4 separate regions of the Homo sapiens genome follow, and all the other regions are linked to region 3. The links are contacts of gene promoters, found by promoter capture Hi-C in blood cells and fetal thymus (Javierre and others, 2016). All regions are on one chromosome and are shown on one strand. The core of a region is centred on a gene start or on the middle of the fragment in contact, and the rest is flanking DNA. Distances in the headings are between cores, read along the strand shown.

What was found. The method cuts DNA at HindIII sites, captures the fragments that hold promoters and counts their contacts. A CHiCAGO score of 5 or more calls a contact.
Region 1: a contact is called between a fragment that was not itself captured here and the fragment with the promoter of TMEM248 in region 3, in 9 of 17 cell types (fetal thymus, total CD8 T cells, naive CD4 T cells and 6 more). The highest score is 14.3, in fetal thymus.
Region 2: a contact is called between a fragment that was not itself captured here and the fragment with the promoter of TMEM248 in region 3, in 3 of 17 cell types (activated CD4 T cells, fetal thymus and total CD8 T cells). The highest score is 6.9, in activated CD4 T cells.
Region 4: a fragment that was not itself captured here is called in contact with the fragment with the promoter of TMEM248 in region 3 in 5 of 17 cell types (naive CD8 T cells, total CD8 T cells, activated CD4 T cells and 2 more); the score reaches 5.7 in naive CD8 T cells.

The regions. Positions count from the first base shown.
Region 1 is chr7:66,592,495-66,595,194 of GRCh38, forward strand. No RefSeq gene overlaps it. Among named protein-coding and RNA genes, the nearest start is that of KCTD7, 35 kb to the right of the region's middle. RefSeq lists an enhancer at 1-82 and silencers at 1-23, 341-512. The HindIII fragment of the contact is 2,073 bases long and covers 376-2,448 here.
Region 2 is chr7:66,574,670-66,577,729 of GRCh38, forward strand. It overlaps the pseudogene RABGEF1P1. Among named protein-coding and RNA genes, the nearest start is that of KCTD7, 53 kb to the right of the region's middle. The HindIII fragment of the contact is 1,935 bases long and covers 669-2,603 here.
Region 3 is chr7:66,919,825-66,922,735 of GRCh38, forward strand. TMEM248 (transmembrane protein 248) reads left to right here and starts at 1,401. Exons shown (of 7, transcript NM_017994.5): 1 at 1,401-1,637. RefSeq lists a silencer at 1,443-1,692. The HindIII fragment of the contact is 775 bases long and covers 1,314-2,088 here.
Region 4 is chr7:66,644,849-66,647,983 of GRCh38, forward strand. No RefSeq gene overlaps it. Among named protein-coding and RNA genes, the nearest start is that of KCTD7, 18 kb to the left of the region's middle. The HindIII fragment of the contact is 7,195 bases long and covers 1-3,135 here.

The sequences.
Region 1 (2,700 bases), core at 162-2,661, 330 kb before region 3:
TGAGGCAGGAGGATCTGTTGAACCTGGGAGGCAGAGGTTGCGGTGAGCCGAGATCGTGCCACTGCACTCCAGCGTGGGTAAAAGAGAGAGATTCCCTCTAAAAAAACGAAAAAAAAAAAAAAAAAGAAATCCAAGATAAGATCACAGAACTGGCAGGTTTGGTTTCTCCTGAGGCCTCTCTTCTTGGCTTATAGATAGTCACTGTCAGGCCTCCGAGCCCAAGCTAAGCCATCATATCCCTTGTGACCTGCATGTATACATCCAGATGGCCTGAAGTAACTGAAGAATCACAAAAGAAGTGAAAATGGCCTGTTACTGCCTTAACTGATGACATTACCTTGTGAAATTCCTTTTCCTGGCTCATCCTGGCTCAAAAGCTTCCCCACTGAGCACCTTGTGTCCCCCGCCCCTACCTGCCAGAGAACAACCCCCTTTGACTGAAATTTTCCTTTACCTACCCAAATCCTATAAAACAGCCCCACCCCTATCTGCCTTCCCTGACTCTGAGTCCCTTCCAGGACTCAGCCTGCCTGCACCCAGGTGAAATAAACAGCCTTGTTGCTAACACAAAGCCTGTTTGGTGGTCTCTTCACACGGACACCAGTGAAAGTGACCTCTTCACTGTGTCCTTACATGGCCTTTTCTCTGTGAACATGCATTTTTAGTGTCTCTGTGTGTGTCCAAATTTCCTCTTTTTATAAAGTCACCAGTTGAATTGGATTAGGGCCCACCCTAATGGCATCATCTTAACTCACCTCTTTAGAGACCTTGTTTCTAAATACAGTTGCATTCTGATGTACTGGGATTAGGACTACAACATATGAATCTGGTGGGGATCACAATTAAGCCTATAACGTAATCATAATTACTTAAAAAATAAATAACATGGTGATATAGAATAACCAGGCAGGAGTGAGGGTTAGGGAGGCTAGGGAGATCGTGATAAGATGATGGCTCCAAGTTGAGAGCATGAGGGACTGTGAGGGTGAAGCCACGTGAGAAGAAAGAGGAGAAGGAAGATGCCAGCTGTCCTGGAGTTTAGGCAGGACTTAAGTGACTTTCAGACTGATCACTTATCCAAATATGAAAACTCTCAGGACTCAGAAAATGATACGACTGAGCAACAGTGCAGCACCAGGGCAGATGTTTTGGCTTCTTCTTGTGTAGCTCATCTCATATCTCCAGTTAGAAACTTTCCTTTTTTTTTTTTTTTTCTGAGACGGAGTCTCGCTCTGTCACCCAGGCTAGCGCAGTGGTGTGATCTCGGCTCACTGCAAGCTCTGCCTCCCAGGTTCTCGCCATTCTCCTGCCTCAGCCTCCCGAGTAGCTGGAACTACAGGCGCCCACCACACCCGGCTAATTTTTTTGTATTTTTAGTAGAGACGGGGTTTCACCGTGTTAGCCAGGATGGTCTCGATCTCCTGACCTCGCGATCCGCCCACCTCGGCCTCCCAAAGTGCTGGGATTACAGGCGTGAGCCACCGTGCCCGGCCAAGTTTCCTTGTATTTAATGTAGAATCTGATGGGAACAGGCCCCCCAAAATCTGGCCATAAACTGGCCCCAAAACTGGCCATAAACAAAATCTCTGCAGCACTGTGACATGTTCATGATGGCCATAACGCCCTTGCTGGAAGATTGTGGGTTTACCGGAATGAGGGCAAGGAACACCTGGCCCACCCAGGGCGGAAAACCAGAAAAACGCTTATAGGCATTCTTAAGCCACAAACAATAGCATGAGCGCTCTGTGCCTTAAGGACATGCTCCTGCTGCAGTTAACTAGCCCAACCTATTCCTTTAATTCGGCCCATCCCTTCGTTTCCCATAAGGGATACTTTTGGTTAATTTAATATCTTATAGAAACAATGCTAATGACTGGCTTGCTGTTAATAAATACGTGGGTAAATCTCTGTTCAGGGTTCTCAGTTCTGAAGGCTGTGAGACCCCTGATTTCCCCCTTCACACCTCTATATTTCTGTGTGTGTATCTTTAATTCCTCTACCGCCGCTGGGTTAGGGTCTCCCTGACCGAACTGGTCTCGGCAGAATTCCTCTTGCTGGGATATAAACCTGTATCCTCTTGTTCTGTCCCCAGAGAAGAGATGTCACAAGTCTGTTCATGTATTGGAATACTATTATTTATCTTTTCGGCAGACTTATTTTCTGCAAGTTGTTTTGGCTTTTCTTCTATAACTGCATCTGGGTAACCTGGCAGTGCAGAGCCAGGCCCTGGGCTTCAAGACAGGGACACACCAAGTCTCAGCACACAGACATGTCCCCACTCTGCTACCCAGCAGCCTAGGGAGTCAGCTGGACTAGTTAGTCGGCTTTGTGAAACTCTTCATCTGGGAAACAATGTTAGATTCTGGTTAAATTTAGCTCTGAATATGATCTTATCTATTTAATAATTTTTAAGTTTTTCTAAAAATCAAGTCCTCTGTACTTCTCTTAAGCTTTGGAGCCTAAATTAGAAATAGTCCTGAAATCAAAGTCTGATTTCTCCCTCTTATTTTTCTTTACATTCTGTTTCAGCTAATGATGCTTGTTCATTTATTGAACAGTTAAATAGCAGCTTGGACTCAAGTTCACTATAAAGTTCACAATTACTCCTTGGCCATTTCCAGCCAACAGTGGCTGCCATATTCCAGCCATGCCTTTCCTCATTTTGGTCACCCACTGACATCTAAGTTGTTCACTAAATCC
Region 2 (3,060 bases), core at 386-2,885, 340 kb before region 3:
AGGAGATGAAAGAGAAATCAAGAATGAAACCAAGGTTTTTTAGCTAACTTGGTAAATAGTGATGCCATTAATTGACTCAGGAGAAGGGTTAGGAGGAAAATGTTCAGAATGCGGAGAATAATAAATAAAAGCAATAAATTTGGGTTTGGATTAGCTGCATGTGAACCATCTGTAATAATTCCCAAACACAGGCGGGGTACAGTAGCTCACGCCTGTAATCCCAGCACACTGGGAGGCCAAGGCAGCCGGATCACTTGAGCTCAGGAATTTGAGACCAGCCTGGGAAACATGGTGAAACCCTGTCTCTACATAAAATACAAAAATTAGCTGGGCGTGGTAGCATGCTCATGTAGTCCTAGCTACTTGGGAGGCTGAAGCAGAGGGATCACTTGAGCCCAGGAAGCAGAGGTTGCAGTGAGTCCAGACTGTACCATGTACCACTGCACTCCAGCAGGGATGACAGAACAAGACCCTGTCTCAAAAAAACAAAAAACAAACAAAAAACTCAAGCACTATCTATAAGACAGTGGTTCTCCAAGTGTGATTCCCCAGACAGCAATAGCAGCAACACCAGGCAACTTGTTAGAAATGCAAATTCTCTAGTCTTACTCCCAAACTACTAAAATCAGAGATTCTGAGGGTAAAGTCCAACAATCACTGCTTTTACAAGCTTTCCGAGAGATTTAGCAGGGTCACAATTAAAAGCAGTAAGAAATAGAAACAAAAATCACAGGTGGAGGTGCTAAGTCTGAGGATGGAATCGGGACACCTCTTTCTCTGGGACAGACAAGAAGTTAATATAAAGGTATTAGTACATTTTATGTAGCCAGGGGAGGAAGCTGAGAGAGTTTGTGCCTAGTGGCCTCTACTCTGTTTTCGAAACAGGGTCTGCTACTGACAGCATGAGGCATGCAGTCGGAAGCCTGAGGAGATCATTCACGTTCTGGGTTAAAATTTTCTCTCTTTGATTGACCACAGTCACTGAAAGCAATGTGTAATTTCTAATTCTCTGGGTTTACCACAGATACCAGCAAAGAAGTCAACTCAACAAATATTGGCTGACTGGATGAAAAAAAAAAAAAACTAGCAAGAGTTAGCAGAATTCCATTTGACTTTCTTCTGTTGAAGCAGTTTTAGAATTTCTAGAATGCTCTGGCAAAGAATTAACATTATTTATGGCATTTTACTAGTTCCTATGCTCACTAGCCATCCCATCATTTAATTTTGTTTTGTTTTTTGTTTTTTTTTTTGAGACCAGAGTCTCACCTTGTTGCCCAGGCTGGACCGCAGTGGCACGATCTCAGCTCACTGCAATCTCCGATACCTGCATTCAAGGAATTCTCCTACCTCAGCCGCCCAAGTAACTGGGATTACAAGCACGTACCACCACATCCGGCTAACTTTTTAAATATTTTTAGTAGAGATTGGGTTTCACCATGTTGGTCAGGCTGGTCTCGAACTCCTAACCTCAGGTAATCCAGCTGCCTCAGCCTCTCAAAGTGCTAGGATTACAGGCGTGAGCCACTGCGCCCGACCCATCATTTAATTTTTAACATCACTGTATATCCAGATAATACAAACTGCCTTTGAGTAACCTAATTTTTAAGGAATAAATTTCTATAATGCAAGGACTATGTATACGAGTCACCAGAGTTCTACTACTGTTTTATCACTGAGCTACATGCCATGCTGAATATAGTAAAAGAACGAGAGAAATAATGCTTGATGACTGCCATTTGCAAGCCCTGCGCTGGGTACATCATATTTATTAGCTCATTTAATCTTCACCAGGAAATATGCCTGTCTCCATTCTTCCACTCCAAGGAATTTGTCTAAATTTGAGAACTAAGACTAACACAATCCAAAGAAAATAACCAGAAGTTAAGACAAACACAAAATGAAGAAACTACTGAAAGCTGTTCATTAAAGGTTGACTGAGAAGAAGAGGGGAAAACATCCTTTTCCTTAATATTAAACTGACTTGCTGATAGCTGAATGCAGAAGAGAAAAAATGTATTTGCACGGTGACAGAGCTATGTATCCAGTCACATCACTGATCAACCGCCCCTAGTTAAGTCCTTTTACCGTTCCACCAGCTCCCAGTACTCCTGAATCTGCTTCTGCCTGGCTTTGTGCTACTCTTCCCTCCAGCACTTGGAGCAGAAACCCTGCCAGGTAGGGTTGCCACAGTAACCACATCCTTTCTTGCACAGGATCCACATGAATTCCTCGGCGTTCAGACCTAAGGCTCATCTTCTTCCTGCTAACCAATGAACAAACAAGAAAGTGCTGTTGAAAATGAATTATCATCCTACTAAACTAAAACCTTACCAGTTACGAACAAAACCTGAGTGATTCCATTATCTTCAAGCCGTAAGAGAGGGAAGGAGGGAATGAATGAGGAAGGGAAGGAGGGAGGGAAAGAGGGGAGGAAGGAAGAAGGAAAAAGTTAAATATAGTAAATTCCTGACAGTTACATTAAAGAAAGACTTATTCCCTGCCCAAAATACAAAGAACTCATTAAGAAAGGGCTAACATTGGATTAAAGACCTAAATGTATAGGCTTGAAACTAGAAAACTCCTAGAGGAAAACTTAGGGGAAAAGCTTCCCAACACTGGATTTTGCAATGACTTCTAGGATATGACACCAAAAGCACAGGCAACAAAGGCAAAATCAGACAAATACATTACATCAAATTTTAATATCTCTGCACAACATAGGAAGCAAATGACAGAGTAAGAAGGAACAATATACAGAATTGTAGAACATATCTGCAAACCACATATCTAATAAGGAGTTAATATCCAGAACATAAAGGAACTCTTACCACTCAGTAACAAAAAAAACAAGATAATCCGGTTTACAAATGGGAAAAGGACTGCAATAGACAATTCTCCAAAGACATACCAACAGCCAATAATCACGTGAAAAAGTGTTCAAGATCATTAAATCAGGGAAATGCAAATCAAAACCACAATGAGATATCTCTTTGTACCCATTAGGATGGCTACTACAAAAAAAACATTTGCAGTTTTTGACGTGGTGGCAAATAAGCACAT
Region 3 (2,911 bases), core at 151-2,650:
TGGTCCCAGCTACTCAGGAGGCTGAGACAGGAGGATCACTTCAGCTTGGGAGGCCGAGTCTGCAGTGAGCCATGATCATGCGACTGCACTCCAGCTTGGGTGACAGAGCAAGACCTTGTCTCAAAAGCAAGAACAACAAAACTTTATTACCTTTAAAGCACCCTGTACTCCTCCCCCATCCCATTCCCCTAACACTTAACATGAAGTTTATACATCTTTTTCTCATGCTTCATGTCAGTTCAAACAATTATGTATGCATCTCTAAACAATATGTTATGAACTTGCCTGTTTTGAATTTTACATAATGGAAATATGTAGCAGTGTACCATTTTGTGATTTGGTCCCTGCCAATATAGTCTGCAATTGACTACCATAATTGTGTGAGCTGTATTAAATAATTTTCACTGGTCTTTTGTACCCGATTAAACACGAAGATGGGCCAGGCGTGGCAGCTCACACCTGTAATCCCAGATCCTCCCGAGGTGGGAGGATCACTTGGGTCCAGTAGTTCGAGACCAGCTTGAGTAACATAGGGAGACCCTGTCTCTACAAAAACAAACCAAACCATGAATATATCAAAGTTGGTTTTTACATTTGACTGTATGGACATCTGCTTTTTCTCCCCAATTTTTAGTGAGTCATACTGCTGCTAAAAACATTGGTGTTGCTATGAGCATTATTTTGTCTACTTGTGCATAGGTGCAACTGTTTCTCCAGGGTAATATATTCTCAAGAGAGGATGTGTATATCTTTAAGTGTACTGCATAATGCCAAATTACTTTGCAAAGTGATTGTACAAAATTATACTTTAAAAATTTTCATTTTCATTTTATTTTATTTATAAATAGAGTCAGAGACTCCCTATGTTACCCAGGCTGGTCTGGAACTCCAGGACTCAAGCGATCCTCCTGCCTTGGCCTCCCAAAGTGCTGAGATTACAGGCCTGAGCCACCGCGCCTGGTCCAAAATTACATGTTTATCAGCAGTGATTAATATACAAGCACATCAACAGACACACGCATAGCACACACATGAGCATGCACACGTGTGCGCACTCCCTACACATCTACGCATGCACACACCCATACCATCACACACCACACACGCGCACACAGATGCACATACATGCACTCACTGCACACACCGTTGTACACGATGCACACTACAAGCCACATACACGCACTACGCACACACGCACACGCACAACACCAGACCGGCACACAGACCCATAAACGTCCATCACGCACTCCACGCACGTCCGCATGCACGCTACCCGTCCCGGAAGCGTGGTCTCCGCCGCCTGCCTCTGACGAAGCTTGTCCCGGCCGCGCCACCGTCGGACGCCCGGGGTCGGAGGTCACGGCGGCGTTGGAGGTGGCGTGGTTTTTTTTTTTTTTTTCACCCGGAAACCGCGGTTGCCGGAGCCCGAACTGAGGCGGCGGCGGGAGCCCGGTTGGCGTCTGGTCTTCGCGTCGGCCCCGCGGAGCCAGACGCTGCCCCCGGCGCGGGGAGAAGATGGTGCCTAGCGGCCTCGGGCCCGCCACGCGCCGCCACGAGTGAGCCCAGCGCGACCGCGGGCGTCCGCCGAGCAGCTGGCCCGGCTGGGCCCGGGGCGCGCAGCTGCCCGCCGGGGCGGGGTGAGCCGGGGCTGGAGGGCGGGCTGGGGTCGGGCCCAGTCGGGGCTGCCCGCGGGGCCGGGAGCGGGGAGCGTGCTGGTCGGGAGCGGCTCCTCCGCCGGCTTTTTTCACCGCTTCTCAGGGTGCAGACCCCGCCCCAACTGCTGGCGGGGGTCGCCCAGCATCGGCCGACCTCGGCCTGGTCCCCCCACACTGGGGTTTGCCCACTCGCGTCCCCCGAGCCAGGGTTCCCTGCCGGCCTTGGAGATGGCGGGACTTCCCACGTCTGGAGCCGAGGCCTGGATAATTCGGATTTGGCACGGGAAACATCTTGGTCGTTTGCCATTTTTCGGCTTTGGGGAGTGTTTGCGTTTCTTCTCCGTTTGGCAGTGAAACACATCTCAGAAAGGTGGGAGGGAGAGACTCACGTACGTCCACAAAGTTAAATGGCATAGTGGTGTTCCCTGTGTCAAGCTTGGTAAATATCCGGAATGGGGTGGATTCTTTCTTCATGTTTTTAATAAAATGAGGAGTGATCGCAAGGTAATCTAGAGGCATGTAGTTTCAGTTCCCTTGATGGGGACCATCAGAAATAAAACCAGGCTTGTTGTGCTGTTTTGAGTCGTTTGAACGCCGTACCCATCGGACAGCTGGTGAGGAGGCCTTTGTGGAAGAATCTGATGTCTGAGTTTAGTTCTCAACTAGCAGGTGACAGCCCTCACTGGCTGATGAATGGTGAGCTTCTCTGAAGCCTGCTTTGTAAAGATTGTGGCTTCCGCCTGAACTGCTTCTTTCCTGCCTCAAAGGTGAGCCGCTACGGGAGGGAATGGGAAGAAAAACTCCGAGACTGCTGATGAATATGTGATAAAGTGGTTTGTCTCGATAGCACCATCAGCTTGGGTCAGCTTAGGGTCTCAGCATGTGTATCTCATTTGTAGATGAGTGTTCCATCAGCGCTTGACCGATAAGGGTGTCCATCTACTTCCTCTTTTCATCTAGGGATTCTGACAGGAAATAGACCTGTCGCGCACCTAAGGTATACTTAGGTGTGCATTGACCCTAAGTGCATTTACTCTCTAGGATTAAGGATTTGGAGTTTCAACTTGTAGTGAAGATTCTGGGAGAATTCCTGTGGCCTGAATCAGGTGGACTGGAATCACTGCTAGCACCGGAGTCTCAATGCTAAAATCACCAAAGGCTAGTTAACTGGCACCTTCTCCGTTTAGGCTCTAGCTGCATCTGTGGCAAGGAGGAAAGGTAGATTATATATATATATGTTTTTGAGACAGAGTCTC
Region 4 (3,135 bases), core at 140-2,639, 270 kb before region 3:
GATGATGTATGGAGTATGACAGAGTAGGTGAGTCATGGCTCCTTGGCTAGACCCCAAGGGTGGGATGATCTGGAACCACCTGAGTTAATGACACTCCTGAAGCCTTGCAGGTATCCCTGCATAGACAAGCTGGATAGCCTACTTCCAACATCAAAAGCATAACAGAATGGGAGACTCCTTAGTGTAGTTCAGGGGATGCCATGTGCCTGGCTTGGGACTCATGGCCCTTGGACTTAGATCTCTATACTGCCAAGTGTCCCGTCTTCATTCTTGTGTAGATGACCTCTTCACTACTTAATTTTGGTTTGTTGAACTTATAGCCTGTTCCCTTAGCTTTTATTTACTTACCTTTAGCTTTCTTTTAATTCCTTACCACATTGTTTTTCCTATCATGTACTTTAGCTTAATTTCTCTGTTTTTTAAACATAATTTTAAACTTTCTTTCTTTCTTTCTTTTTTTTTTTTTTGAGACAGTCTTGCTCTGTTGCCCAGGCTGCAGTGTAGTGGTGCAATCTCAGCTCACTACATCCTCCACCAGCTGGGTTCAAGCAATCCTCCTTCGTCAGCCTCCCAAGTAGCTGGGATTACAGACGCGCCACCAAGCCTGGCTAATTTTTGTATTTTTAGTAGAGATGGGGTTTCACCATATTGGCCAGACTGGTCTCAAACTCCTGACCTCAGGTGATGTACCCGCCTTGGCCTCCCAAAGTGCTGGGAGTACAGGCATGAGCCACCACCACACCGAGCCTAGTAGTTTTTGTTTTGAGAAAGAATAGTTAGGTGCTTTTCTTTTCCCTTCCCCAGTCATGTCTACAGTGATCTTATTAGCTGTGAACTTAGGTACCTCATTTTTTCTCAGATGAATACCTGCTTCTAAAATCTAAATGCAAAGTAAGAGTGACAGTATTACTATAAAATTCATAGATGTTCATTATCTAGGTATATTCAAAGGACAGAATTTTATGTCTTCTTCCAAAGTGTACCCCTGACCCTCCACCACACCACACACACACACACACATGAAATAATAAACAGAGCAGCCTTAGGAAGAGGGCAGTTCAATTCCTGGACTGCAAAGGACTTCTTCTCTCACACACTTGTTTTTCCTGAGGAATGACATGATCTGGAAATCCTAGGTATCCCCCTTCTCCAACCACTTGACACCAGGTGGACACAGAGCTGTTGTACACCAGGAGAAGATCCAGTCAACTGTGGGAAAGACTGAACCATGAACCATCCAGAAATACTCCGTAACAGGGGCCTGTCATCAGATTATGATGTACCTTTTCTAGCCACCTCTGGCCTCTATGTCAACCTTATTCACACCTCAACAAACCATGACTTCTGAGGATTCTCTTTTTTTTTTTTTTTTTTTTTTTTTGAGACGGAGTCTCATTCTGCTGCCCAGGCTAGAATGCAGTGGTGCAGTCTCAGCTGACTGCAACCCCCGCATCCCGGGTTCAAGCAATTCCCTGCCTCAGCCTCCCAAGTAGCTGGGATTACAGGTGCTCGCTACCACACCCGGATAATTTTTGTATTTTTAGTAGAGATGGAGTTTCACCATCTTGGCCAGGCTAGTCTTGAACTCCTGACCTTGTGATCCACCCACCTCAGCCTCCCAAAGTGCTGGGATTACAGGCGTGACCCATCGCACTTGGCCAGGATTCTCTTAATGTAATACAGACCCTCATTTCTTCCCCGTATCATATGATCCTGGCAGATGGCCCAGCCCCAGTAGATTTTTGGAATGGAGGTATCCATACTTTTCTCAGTCATTATTAAAATCAAGAAATAGAATCACATAGCAACACAAAACTTGGAGCTTGACCCTCATTAAAAGAAACTTACAGGTTCAGAGTCCAGTTGAAGAAATCTTTGTATCTCCAGTATTTTTGTAAAGAGGTCAGGGTGGTATCATGAGTAGGCTTAAGTCCCTACAGTCTTTGTGAACTTTTATAAATGCCTTGGGTATCCAGTTTCTCAACATAGCATCTTCATCACCAACTGTACCTCAGCTGACTGCCCCAAGGGCCCACCCGTGTGTGCACACGTTGCAGGTGTTTACTGTCCCTCTCACCATGTCCTCCTCCACCTCTCCCCTCTGTTTGTAACTGTCCTGTCTTTGATATTTAAAAGCTAGTTGGCCACTTCTGGCCATGCCTTATCTGGTACCTGTTAGCCAACCATGACAGTGATGCCATACCCAGGACTGTCTGCTTCTTGTTCTCAGGCAGGTAGGTGCTCTCAGCACTGATGTCTCTTGCTTTCCAAGTCAGCTTTTACATCTGGCCTGCTAGGAACTGGAGAGCATTTTCAGTCTTCATAGCAGCAGCATAGGATCCTGCAGGCTCTGTATCCACCTAAGTTAAGGTAAGGTGGATACACATCCTGGAAACTCTGTATCTACCTCCACAACAGCTGCAGAGGATGCCTGCAGGATCACACTGAGCAGACACACTAGTTTCATCACACTAGTTTCATCTTCTGCACCAGAAAGGAAGAATCTATTTTGCCTGGCCAGGCATGGTGGTTCACACCTGTAATCCTATAGCACTTTGAGAGGCAGAGGCAAGAGGATTGCCTGAGGCCAGGAGTCCAGGACCAGCCTGGGTGACATAGCAAGATCCTATGTCCAAAAAAACAAAATTCAAAAACATAAGCCAGGCAGGGTGGTGTGCACCTGCAGTCCCAGATACTTGGGAGCCTGAGGTGGGAGGTTCACTTGAGCCCATGAGGTTGAGGTTGCAATGAGCCGTGATTGCACTACTGCAGTCCAGCCTCAGTGACAGAACAAGACCCTGTCTCTAAAATAAAAAGTAAAATAAATAAATATTTTGCTTGGAAACCGAGTTCACCATGAGTTTCTTAACAAAAATATGAACTTAACTAATGAGCTGACCACATCGCTATTAGATGAAATGAGGGTGGCATTATTTACTCAGCACTCCCAGGAGTCAAGGCAGAATGTAATTGCTTCCAGACATATTCAGGGGATATTCCACCCAATTATCTAATTTTATTCTTCAAAGGCGGCTGTATTTGGAAACTCCCATTGGTCCAGAGAGACAGAACAATGAGAAGAAATCCCCTGTCCAGTTGCCTGCAGGAGTATTCCAACACTTCATGGGCTAGAGG